Linked DNA regions of Homo sapiens: region 1 is linked to region 2. Evidence: promoter capture Hi-C in 16 types of primary human blood cells and fetal thymus (Javierre and others, 2016). All regions are on one chromosome and are shown on one strand. Each heading gives the region's core, a stretch centred on a gene start or on the middle of the fragment in contact. The rest is flanking DNA. Distances are from core to core; before and after follow the strand shown.

Region 1 (6,607 bases), core at 3,039-5,538, 430 kb after region 2:
ATGCTACCACTTCCAGATTTTTCTGCCATGGGTAAAATATGTCTCTTCATCAGCTGTCTCTGCCATCCTCATATTCTGGTCCTACTTCATTATTCTCAATACCATGGTGCCCATTTCCCTCTATGTCAGGTAGGCTTCTTTGATCACTTTGGGGTGTGGGGGAGGAGCTGACTTCATACTGTCTACTTAATTCCCCAACCAGAGTGTGAACTTTTAAAAAGCATACACTTGTGCTCTTTAACCCCTCACTCTCCACAGTAGGTGGTGTACAAAATGCTCTGAGATATATCTAGAGGTTGCATAAATGCCTTCCATGTCCAGAATACTGTGCTAGGAAGACACTATGTGGTTTATACAAAAAGACAGTTATCCCTGCCCTCAAATAACTTATAAAGTAAGTGGCTAAATAAGACATAAAAACACATGAAATAACTAGAAAACATACACACAAATTTGGTGATGCTTAAAGCATGGGTAGTTTCCCCAGGAAGATAGGCCAGGCAGCCCATAGTTTACCAATGAGATAGGTCCAAACATTCACTTGTAAGTCAATTAATCAGAATTCAGAATCCATTTTCCCACACAAACAGTGTGACAGATGGTAGATAGGTGTAATTGTGACCTAAGTTCAACTCCTAAAAGTTGTGGAAGAGAAGAGGAAGGGTTTCCCTTCCTCTTTTTCATAAGCACCTTGAATGAAAATTTGAAATAGCTGAAAAAAGTATTTACCCTACTCTGATCATCCTTTTCTGGGTTCTGCATTTCCTTACACATACACACACCCAAACACATTTTAGTTTCCTCCTTTCCAGGCTTTCTAAACCCTGTACCGGGGCTTTTTGGCAATAAAAAAAAAAGGACCCTATGTAACTAGATTACCTTATTTAGTAATATTTATTGAGTATCTACTATGTGCTAAGGTTTAGAGAGATTGCTATGGTGGCTGATATGGTAAAGGATGGGAGGGGTCCCAACTCCAGGCATAGAGATTATCAGTAATGAGTCAATGATGAGGACCTGAGCACCTCCTTCCTCACCTCAAAGGAAAAAATCCCCATCTGTCAGTGCAGCTGTCTCAGACAGGGATTACTAATAATCACTCTTATAATAAAGCAGACTAACACACATTAAGTATGAATGATGATAAGAAGGAGACCCCTTAAAAGTCTTCACTGTTTTAAAATGAACATGCTTGTTAGCCATAAAGAATCTATAATGGACGCTATTTGGAGCAGAAGAGGAGTATGACAGAGGCAATAGGGAAAACTTATATAAAATGAGAAGAGGTTGTTGTGGGAGGAGACACACCACAGGCAGGCTGGCTCTGCCTGGAAATTTATCAGAGGGTCAGCCCATAAACTATTCCTGATTTTCATAGCTTCTTTCCTTCTTCTGAAATAAACTCTGAGTGTGTCAAGGTTCTCTGTCTTCCCCATGTGACAGGAGCAATAATCCTCCAATTGGGCCAACACAGCCTTTTATAAGTTAACTGTTACTCTATCACACCTTGCATTACTGCAGAAATTCCAAAATTGTAACTTTTCCTGGATACATTATGGAAAAAAAAAAAAAGAATAAAAGCCAGGTATGACTCAAAAAAGTTAATCAAGTATATCTGGGTCCAGGTGGTAAAGCCTTGGGTGATAATGGCCAAAGTCAGCATTACAATGGGTTGGCTGGTGGGAAGGGTCCTTCAGAAGGGTAGAATCCCAAGGAAGACACTCTGATTTTCAGATGCTTAGCCCTGCTAAGAAAGAAACCAGGATGATATATTTGCTTGTCCTGTTCTGACGCAGAACCATTCTTTTTCTGCTTTCTCCTTAGTGTTGAAATAATAAGATTGGGCAACAGTTTATATATCAACTGGGATCGGAAGATGTTTTATGCACCAAGGAACACACCAGCACAGGCTCGTACTACCACCCTTACTGAGGAGCTCGGCCAAGTCAAATATGTGTTCTCTGACAAAACAGGGACTCTGACTCAGAACATTATGATTTTCAACAAATGTTCTATTAATGGGAAGCTCTATGATATGCATGTCTTCCTGCTTTCCCCAAGTCCTGGGAAATTTTTACTTTGCAAATTGTTTTCAAGACTAATCTAGCTCTAAATCTGTAAGCCTCTGGAATTCACATTTATCTCCTATTCTCACAACTGTCTCTATTCTCTAAGCAAAGACCACCCAGCCCAAACAGTTCTAACCAAAAAGCATTTATTTAGCATCTTATAGGTACAATCTATTGTGTTGGGCATTGAGAATACCGAGATGTGCAAGACTTAGTCTCTGTCCTCAAGGAGTCCCCAATGTCTATGTACTCAGTTCACTCCCACTTTAAATCAGATGGATGTTGGTCAAAGGGTACAAAGTTTCAGTTAGGCAGGAGGAATAAGTCTTCAAGATCCATTGCACAGCATGTTGATCCTAGTTAATAATAATGTATTGCATATTTCAAAATTACTAAAAGAGTTTTAAATGTTCTCACTACAAAAAAATAAGTATGCAAGGTGATAAATATGTTAGTTAGCTTGATATAATCATTCCATGGTGTATACATATATGAAAACATCACATTGTATCCATAAATATATACAATTAGTATTTGTCAATTAATAATAAAATTAAAAATAAATTAAATGGAGCAGTCAATGTATTACTGAAGCTGCTAATTTCTTGATTCCCCTTTACAGCAATAAATATTATTGAGAGAAACCATCAAAGGGTAGTCAGAGTTTGATCAGTGTCTCCCAGGCCCAATCCCTTATTTATCTTATGCCTTAAGCATAAGCTTGTTTTTGTGATAGAGTTAAGTCCTCATGTGTGTGAACAGTCATACCCAGTGTCCTAGCTAACAGAGGAAGGTAATCACATCTAAAAAACTAGAACACATGGAATAATCTTTCTGGGGTGACGAAAAAGTTTAGAAACTTGAGAGAGGTGGTAGTTGCACATTGTAAATGCACTAAATGCCTCTAAATTGTACACATTAAAATGGATAATTATATGTTAACTAAGTAAATTTCATATCAATAAGTAATTGAAATTTTTTAATTAAAAAAAGCTAGGCCGGGTGCGTTGGCTCACGCCTGTAATTTCAATACTTTGGGAGTCTGAGGCAGGCGGATCACCTGAGGTCAGAAGCTCGAGACGAGCCTGGCCAACATGGTGAAACCCCATCTCAACAAAAAATACAAAAATATTAGCCAGGCATGGTGGCACATGCCTGTAATCCCAGCTACTTGGGAGGCTGAGGTGGGAGAATTTCTTAAACCCGGGAGGTGGAAGTTGCAGTGAGCCAAGATCATGCCACTGCACTCCAGCCTGGGTGACAAGAGTGAAACTCCTGTCTAAAAAAAAAAAAAAAAAAGACTAGAGCACTCTAATATTTCCTATTATTTCCTATATTTCCTATTATTTGTTTGGTAACCATGTCAAACAAATTTTCACTTATATAAACTCTGAAGGCTTATTTTTGGATGAGCTGATTTGGGTGAGCCTCTTAATTCTCTGACCTGACCATATACTGGGTAAAGTTGAAAAGGACCATGAGTGTTTCCATGCTTGGCATCAGACATGTCTTCTACCCCTATTCAGTCTGTCATCCACTGGTCAAGAATCCCAAACATTCTAAAACTGTGTCCACATCTCTTCTGGGTAACTCTTATGATTGGAGGGCTTCCTGAGGTGTGAAGTCTATCACAGATCCAGTGACTAACTTCTAGCTTCATCTTATTCTCACTTAGGGGAGAAGAGTTGAGGCCCAAGCAAACCTCTTCTTACCATTGGCTTAGGGAAAGGAGCTTACTGGGAACTGGGAGCTAGGTGGCCTGAGGAGACTGGGGGGCAGGCATCTTGACTGCAAGTCTAGGATGAAGGAATCAGAATAAATAAGCTTTTAAGGCCCCTCCTTTAAATCACCATATGACCCAGCAATTTGATTCCTAGGTATATACCCCCAAAACTTGAAAACAAGAACTCGGATACATGTATACCAACGTTCATTGTGACATTATTCGCATAAGTCCAGAGATAGAAATAACCCACATGTCCATCCACAGATGAATGGATAAAGAAACTGTGGTATAGCATATACATACAATGGAATGTGAATCATCCATAAAAAGTAATGAAATTTGATACATGCTACAACATGGATGAACCTTGAAAGCATTATGCTAAGTGATGTAAGCTAAACACAAAAAGACAAAAATTTTATGATTCTACTTATGTGAACTATCTAGAATAGGCAAATTCATAGAGACAAAAAATAGACTAGAGGTTACTAGGGGCTGGTGATGGGAAAAAATGGGAAGTTTCTGTTTGGGGTGCTGAAAAAATGTTGGAAATATATAGTGGTGATTGTTGCACAACATTGTGAATATAATTAATGTCATTGCATTTTACATTTAAAATAGTTAAAATGGCAAGTTTTATGTGATATATATGTATATTTTTTTAACAACAATTTAAAGAAATTCAAACCCTCCTTTAAAACCCTTGCCAAGTCTCTGCTGTGTTCACTTACCAACAGGTGATACTTATGACAAGGATGGACAGAGGGTGACGGTCTCTGAGGTGAGTGATTACAGCTCCATGGGAAATGCATGTGGGAGCTGAGTGAGGCTGTGCTTCAGAGAAGCATCCTTAATACAAATCGAGACTCCCTTAGCCACTGAAATATTAAAGCTTTTACTGGTCCTGTAATATCAGAAAGCATTATATAAATGACCTATGTTTAATTCTGAAGATCTTCGTTTGTTCTTTTTAAACAAAAATAGCTTTATTGGCTTTTTCTCTTTAAAAAATAATCCATGCTCACTGTAAAAAAAAAAATTAAATAATACAGAAATGTGTGAAGAAAGTTAAAATTATTCCATCCCATTTAGATAGCCAGTGTAAAGTTGGGGAGTATATCCTATGCTTTTCATATGTGTATACACACACACATATGTACATCTAGATCTAGAAGATGGGGGAGATAAAATCATAGTATGCATGCTATTTCCAGTTTCCTTTTGTTCACTTGACACTATTATTGTCGTCATCTTTCCATGTCGGTAGGTCTAGGTCTACATCATCATTTTGAATGGGTGTCCACTATTCAGTTGTATCACTGTACCTTAATTTATTTAATTTCTTATTTTTATTCCATTTTCCTTTGCGATTACAAATGACATTTTGGTAATCATTATGGAACATACATTTTGTCTACTTTTCTGATAATTATTTCTTTAGAATAAAGTCCTAGAAGTAAAATTCATTGGTCAAAAGGTAGCCACGTTTTAATACATTAAATAGTGCCACATTGCCCTCCAGGTAGATTCGCATAACTTTATAATCCCACCAAAAATATATGACATTTTGTTTTCCCCCATATGCTTGTCAGAACTGGTATTAACAATTTTTAATCTGTTGAAATTTAATTGATGAAAAATGGTATCTAATTATTTAATTTACCTTTTTTGATGACTAATTAGGTTGAATCATTTTTATGTGCTTATTTTTCTTCCCCTTATCATCTCTTTATTGCCCATTTACACTTACTTTGTGAACTGTCTATTCATATTCTTTGGCCTTTTTTTCTTATTTGAAAATGCTCTTTATACAGTAAAAATACTAGCTCTTCCTTTTTCTGGTGCATATGTTATAATTATTTTTCCCATTTTGTCTTTTGGTTTTTAATTTGTTAAATAATATTTTGTGTAGAAGTGTTTAATTCATGTAATCAAATCTATCAGTCATTTTCCTTTGTAACTTAAGGATTTGTGACATATTCAACAGGCTTTATAAAATTATAAAAATATCTTCCTATTCATTCTTCTTATCTCTAGTTGGTTTTTACTGTTTTCTCTAGTATTGGACCCAGCTTTTGTTTATGGATTTGTTTTTAAGTGTCCCTTCACAGGGGTTCTTCTGCTGCCTTCAGGGTATTCCTCACCTTATCTCTGTCTTGCTAGACCCAATTCCAAACTGAGCCACTTGACTTATGTACCAAACATCTGACTCCAGTTCTCAACTGTTGCCTTACCCCTGTCCATCCAAAGAGATTGGGAAGGGGAAGGAAATTCAGTGATTTGCCTTAAATCATCTTCCAGGGGCTTGGCTAATGACCTTGGCAATATAGGCAAAATTATAGCTTCTAGGGAGTAAATCCCTCCTGGAGTTTCTTTCCTCTCCTTCTGTCCACTACTGATTGACCGTAACACATTTTTCACTAAATCACTGGAATTTTTGTTCTCTTATAAACAAACTTACCTATAGCCTCAATCCCTTCATTAATTGAAACATGATTTTCCCTGAGAACATTCCTTTTTCTTCCATCTCTCTCATACTCTGCATACCATAAACTCTGGATACCATAAGCCCAAAGGTGTTGCCCTCATTATCCTGTGCCATGTTTAACCATTAGTTTTTCTCTCCTACACAATCTTTCTTCCTGTGATGCTTATGACTTCTGGCTATACTCATCTGTAACTCTTCTTGTTGTTGATATCTAGGAAGCTTCTGGCTTCTACACCCCATTCATTGAGGGCTTTGAAACTTCTCCCTCCCCTCCCAACCACTGCTATTGTTTTGGGTGGTATTGTCATCCTTATGGACGACCTA
Region 2 (6,455 bases), core at 160-2,659:
TCCTTGTTAGAAATGCTTGTTCCCCAGTGCCGTGAAGAAATAGCACTTGAACATAAATTTAATTTCCTCAGCAAGGCTATTTTTACTTTCTGCAGAAACGGTACACTCACCAGCAGTTTTGCCATGAAGAGTACACCGAACAAAGGAGGCAGGGTCATTTATAGCCTGACGCATCCACCCTACTGCTGTGTCCGGTTTCCATTGGCTGGAACAGGACCTCGCTTTCTGTATTTGTCCTGATTGGCTAACAACTTAGAACTTTTTAAAAAGAGGCAAAGGCAGAGAACAAAGGAAGGAGGAAGTTAACTTGTGGAATGCTGAGAAAGGTAAAAACACCTTCAAATAAGGAAGAGGAACAGGCTATGACCTAATGCTTGCTTGGACCAATATAAGCATGCCAGGGCAAATATTTAGGCTAAATTGTGGAAGCTAAGAACATAAAGTAAATTGATTTATTACGGCTAGCAGATATTTAAGAATGTTAACAGAGGTCTTTGAATAAATTTTGCTTCTAAGAGATGTTACTATTTATTCCTAATAAGATGGAGAGGAAAGTCTTTGAAGAGGAACCTCTACTTTACTTTTTACATCCTCAAAACAACCCTGTGTAGTAAGTAATAATATTATTGTGCTGGGTAGAGTGGCCCATGCCTGTAATCCCAGCTACTCAGAGGCTGAGATGGAAGGCTCTCTTGAGCTCAGGAGGTCAAGACCAGCCGGGGCAATACAATGAGACCTTGCCTCTAAGAATAATATGCCAGGCAAGATGGTTCACGCCTATAATCCCACCACTTTGGGAGGCCAAGGCGGGAGGATCCCTAGAGCTCAGGAGTCGAGACCAGCCTGGGCAATATAGAGAGATCCTGTCTCTACAAAAATAAAAAATATAAAAATTAGCTGGGCACGGTGGCACATGCCTGTGGTCCCAGCTACTCAGGAGGCTGAGGCAGGAGGAGCACTTCAGCCCAGGAGGTTGAGGCTGCAGTGAGTCGTGATCACACCACTGCACTCCAGCCTGGGTGACACAGTGAGATTCTGTCTCAAAATAATAACAATAAATATCTATAAAATAAAGATAATGATATCTTTATTTTATAGATAAGAAAAATGAGGCACTGAAAAAATTAAGTAGTTTGAGTTTTCACAGGTAGGAAAATGACAGAGCTATGATTTGAATAAGGCAGTTCGGTGCTAGAATCCATGTACTTAACCACAATGCCTGAAGCATAATTCTGAACTGGGCAATCAAAAGGGGATCACCCACATTTCACTGTGTGAAGCATGAATTGCCTGATAGAGGAAATTTTTTTTGGTTCTAAATTCAGGGAGAAGGCTGTTAAGCCCAGGCCTCTGTGGGGGATGGGAGTTCTTTGTTCTGTGATGCAATGATGACCTCAGGGTAAACTGCCAGAAGGCTAAGGGAAATGGAATGGCTGCTGGAGGACCTGCTTGGGGCTAAGGGGGATATGGGGCTTCTCTGGGGCCAACTGACCCATGCCCTAGCCTGCAGACACTGCGGCAGCAGCTGCTTCCAGAGTCCAGGAAATCTGGTGACACTATTCTTATTCGTGGTTTGGCAGATTCAGAGATGGTGGCAGCTTGGGAGGTTGCGACAGCTTCATCCCTGGTGCTCTGGGAATATGGTGCAAGGCAAGGTGGGTGACCTGTGACTGTACAGCTGGATGAATGACTGCTGACACCACATGTGAGGTCATTGGTATGAATGTGGGCCCAGGTGAGTGACTATAAGCCCTAGATGTGAGGCTGGGTGAGTAACCACTGACACTAGATTTGAAGCCAGGTGAGTGACCATGGATTCTAGATGTAGAATGAGGGAATACTGATCTCCAAATGAGGACTGGGTAATGACCATTAACACTAGATGAGGAGCTGTGTAGGTGACTGGCCACACACGTGGGATTAGGTGAGTAACTGTCCACTCTGGATATGGAGCAGACTGAGTGCCTCATAGCAAACCTTGTGTATCTGAAAAGGCTTCATGCCTGAGAATATCTTTATCTACTTCCCAGGAACTACCACTTCTGCACCGTGTGGCCTTCCTTGATCACCTGTGTAAGCAGAAATCAGAAGTGGAGGAAGAAGGGGAAGAAGAGGAAGAGGGGGAAGACGAGGCATCTCTGGATCCACTGAAGCCATGTTCTCCTACCAAAGAAGCTCCCACTGGAGAGCAAGCCACTCCAGCCCCACCCCAGCCATCCTGTGGTTCTGAGGGCCTCCTCAAGGCTATAGGGATACCAGAGCAAACAGTCATGCAGCCCGTGAGCCCTTCCAGATCCTTCCCCATCTTCCAGATTCTGACCAGCTTTCCTGTGAGGCACAAGATAGCATCAGGGAACCGCCAGCAGCAGAGAAAAAGCCAGCTCTTCTGGGGTCTCCCCTCTCTGCACAGCGAGTCCTTGGAGGCCATCTTCCTGAGCTCAGGTGGCCCCTCTCCTCTGAAGTGGTCTGTTTGTTCTTCTGTCTTCTTCAACAAGCTTGCCTTCCTACCTAGGTCCAACCTGTTGCTTCCCCAGTATCACTCCTCAGCCCAGTTTTCTACCCATGGGGCCCATACTATGGAAGATCTAGAAGGGATGGCCCCCGATCCTCAGCTGCTTCCACCTCCATCTTCTCCTTCTGTCTCATCACTACTCCTCCATCTGAGGCCCTTCCCTGTGGACCACAAGGGAGTTTTATCTGGCGCTGAGGCACCCACACAGTCCCCTGGAACTAGCCCCCTGGAAGTTCTCCCTGGATATGAGACTCATTTGGAAACCACAGGACACAAAAAGATGCCCCAAGCTTTTGAGCCTCCGATGCCACCCCCCTGCCAATCCCCAGCTTCTCTGTCAGAACCCAGAAAAGTTAGCCCTGAAGGAGGACTTGCTATATCTAAGGACTTCTGGGGAACCGTGGGATACAGAGAGAAACCTCAGGCCTCTGAGTCTTCAATGCCAGTCCCTTGCCCTCCCCTAGACTCCCTGCCAGAACTCCAGAGAGAGAGTTCCCTGGAAGATCCATCCAGATATAAGCCCCAGTGGGAATGCAGAGAAAACTCAGGAAACCTCTGGGCTTTTGAGTCTCCAGTCTTGGACCTCAACCCAGAGCTCTCTGGAACCAGCCCTGAATGTGTCCCACCAGCATCTGAGACACCATGGAAGGGCATGCAAAGTAGAGAAAATATTTGGGTCCCTGCAGACCCAGTTTCACCTCCCAGCCTTCCCTCAGTCCCTCTCCTGGAGTCTCTAGTAATGGGCCCCCAGGGAGTCCTGTCTGAATCCAAAGCTTTGTGGGAGACCATGGGGCAGAAAGAGAACCTCTGGGCATCTGATTCCCCAGACCCTGTTCATAGCACACCTCCAACCACCCTTATGGAACCACACAGAATCAATCCTGGGGAATGCCTCGCTACATCAGAAGCTACATGGAAGGATACTGAGCATTCCAGGAATTCCTCGGCTTCTAGGTCTCCATCTCTGGCCCTCAGCCCACCCCCAGCTCTTGCACCGGAGCTGCTCAGAGTTAGATCCATGGGGGTCCTGTCTGATTCTGAAGCTAGATGTGGGGACATACAAAAGACAAAAAACTCCTGGGCCTCTAAGCACCCAGCTTGTAACTTACCCCAAGACCTGCATGGAGCCAGCCCTCTGGGAGTCTTGTCTGATTCTCAGTCTATTGTAGGGGAAATGGAGCAAAAAGAAAACTGTGTTCCTGTGTTCCCAGGTAGGGGCTCCAGCCCATCCTCAAACTCTGTTTCAAAGTCCCACGTAAGTGAGCCTATCGCAGACCAAAGCAACTATAAGCCTGACGGGGAGGCAGTGGAGCAAAGAAAGAACCACTGGGCCACTGAGCTCCCAGCCCCCAGCTCACTCTCTACTCCTCTACCAGAGCCACACATTGACCTTGAACTTGTGTGGAGAAATGTGCAACAAAGAGAAGTTCCCCAAGGCCCCAGCCCTCTGGCAGTGGATCCCCTACACCCAGTACCCCAGCCTCCCACCCTAGCTGAAGCTGTGAAGATTGAACGCACTCATCCTGGTCTACCCAAGGGAGTAACGTGCCCAGGGGTTAAGGCAGAGGCCCCACTCTCCCAGAGATGGACTGTCCCAGAGTTGCTCACCCATCCTGGGATCCATGCCTGGCAGTGGAGTAGAGAGCTGAAACTCAGGCTGAAGAAACTGCGGCAGAGCCCTGCCTCCAGAGCCCCTGGCCCAAGTCAATCATTTTGCAGCTCCCCTATTCTGAGCTCCACAATTCCAGACTTCTGGGGACTCCCTTCCTGCCCACCACAGCAGATTTATCCCCCCAATCCATGCCCCCACTCTTCAAGTTGTCATCCTCAAGAAGTTCAGCGCACAGTACCTCAGCCTGTCCAGTCCTCCCACTGTCATCACTTCCAATCCTCTTCCCAGCTTCAGCCACAGGAGTCTGGCAGGGCGGAACAAGGGTCTCAGAGAGGGGAGAAAATGAAGGGGAAGATGGTGAGCCAGGTCCCATCCCAAGGGCCATGTGTACACATGGAGGCTGGTGTGGACTATCTATCTCCAGGCCCAGGAGAACCCTCAAACTCTAAGGTTCTGGTCTCAGGCAAGAGAAAGGACAAGGCTTCAGCCTCATCCTCAGCCAAAAAGAGAGAGCACCCTAGGAAACCCAAAGCAGGAGACCATAGAAGAGGGACTGCAAGGTTGGGGTTATCCACAGTCACAGGGAAGAACCACCCTGCCCAGGCCAGAAGCCTAGTAGAGGCCCCTGTAAGCACATTTCCCCAAAGGTCTCAACACAGGGGCCAGAGCTCTCAACACACTGCTCTTCCCCAGCTGCTTCTCCCCAAAGCTTCGGGTCCCCAGGATCAGCCAGAGGCAGGGCGAAGAGCAAGTGACATCCTGACCCCTCGCCACTGTAAGCACTGTCCTTGGGCCCACATGGAGAAGTATCTCTCCTTCCCTACCCTCAAGGCTTCCCTTACCAGGGGTTTGCAAAAGGTGTTAGCCAAATGCCTGGATAACCATCGACCCCTACCCACCAAATCTAGTCAGTAGAGAAAAGGCTGGTAATACTAGCACTTGGTATGCCAAGACCTGAAGCCAAACCAGGGGGAAGGTGGGGATGTGGAGACAAGAAATGGAAATTCTAATAAACTAGCTGAATTAGATAAATCCCATTCATGTCTTCTTTGGAATCTAGGGTACTGAAAATGTCAATTCCCAATTCTGCTACAGCCATAGCCCCTCAGTTTCAAGTCCCAGTAGAGCACTCAGGATTCTGCAGGCTTAACTCTTTTGTGGATCTTCACAGATGATCACATCTGGAGTCCACACATCCCTACTCTATAGGGTGAGGCTACAGGGCCAGGTCAGCATAGCCCAAAGCCGCCCTTGAGAGGGAACGACTTCACAGCATGTGAACAAAAAACTACATCCATTCACACGAGCACAGGTCATCTGAGTCTAGGCAACTGTGCTTTGTCCTGGGTATTGTTCTCTTCTTCATCCACTTGACCTGTAAGTTCTCCACGTATCTTTCTGACCATTTCTTCTCAGCCCTCTGCTCTTTTCTCTCCCTGGGTCAGCTCATCCATCTCCAAGGCCATGAAAACAAGTGTCTTTTAATACGTCTAGTAACCGTCTGGATTTCTATAATCACCGGGTCATATCCTCTACCCATTTTCTAATGCACTATTTGTTGGACATTGTATTAGTCAATGTATTACAGTTTTCTACTGCTGCTGTAACAAATTACCACAAAACAAATTTATTTTGTCAGAAGTCTGACACGGAGCCTGGGTGCAGTGGCTCACATCTGTAATCCCAACACTTTGGGAGGCTGAGATGGGCTGATAGCATGAGCCCAGAAGTTTGAGACCAGCCTGGGCAACATGACAAAACCCTGTCTCTACAAAAAAAAAAAAACAAAAAAACCACAAAAATTAGCTGGGCATGGTGGTGCATGCCTATAGTCCCAGCTACTGGGCAAGGTGAGGTGGGAGGATCACCTGAACCAGAGAGGTCAAGGCTACAGTGAGCCACTGCACCACTACATGCCAGCCTGGGCAAAAGAGACCCTGTCTCCTCCCCGCAAAAAAAGTCTGACACATGTCTCACAGGGCTAAAATCAAGGGGTTGGCAGGCCTACATCCTTTTCTCTAGGCTCTGGGTAGGATTCACTCCTTGCCTTTCCCAGTTTCTAGAGGCTGCCCACATTCCTTGGTTACTGACCCCCTTCTTCTATCTTTAAAGCTAGCAAAGGCAAGTCAAGTTCTTCTCACATTGTATCACTCTGACCTCTTCTGCCTCCCTCTTCCACTTTTTTTTTTTTTTTTTTTTTTGAGATGGAGTCTCGCTCTGTCTCCCAGGCTGGAGTGCAGTGGCACGAACTCGGCTCACTGCAAGCTCCGCCTCCCAGGTTTTATGCCGTTCTCCTGCCTCAGCCTCCCGAGTAGCTGGGACTACAGGTGT

The links. Contacts are between HindIII fragments. The CHiCAGO score rates a contact against its expected background, and 5 or more counts as called.
Region 1: a contact is called between a fragment that was not itself captured here and the fragment with the promoter of SPATA31G1 in region 2, in 1 of 17 cell types (M0 macrophages). The highest score is 5.9, in M0 macrophages.

Annotation. Positions count from the first base shown.
Region 1 is chr9:35,469,196-35,475,802 of GRCh38, forward strand. It overlaps the pseudogene ATP8B5P. Among named protein-coding and RNA genes, the nearest start is that of RUSC2, 18 kb to the right of the region's middle. The HindIII fragment of the contact is 794 bases long and covers 3,892-4,685 here.
Region 2 is chr9:35,040,831-35,047,285 of GRCh38, forward strand. It overlaps SPATA31G1 (SPATA31 subfamily G member 1), which reads left to right and starts at 1,410. Exons shown (of 2, transcript NM_203299.4): 1 at 1,410-1,655; 2 at 2,031-5,156. The coding sequence starts at 1,425. The coding sequence ends at 5,039. The HindIII fragment of the contact is 2,574 bases long and covers 1-2,493 here.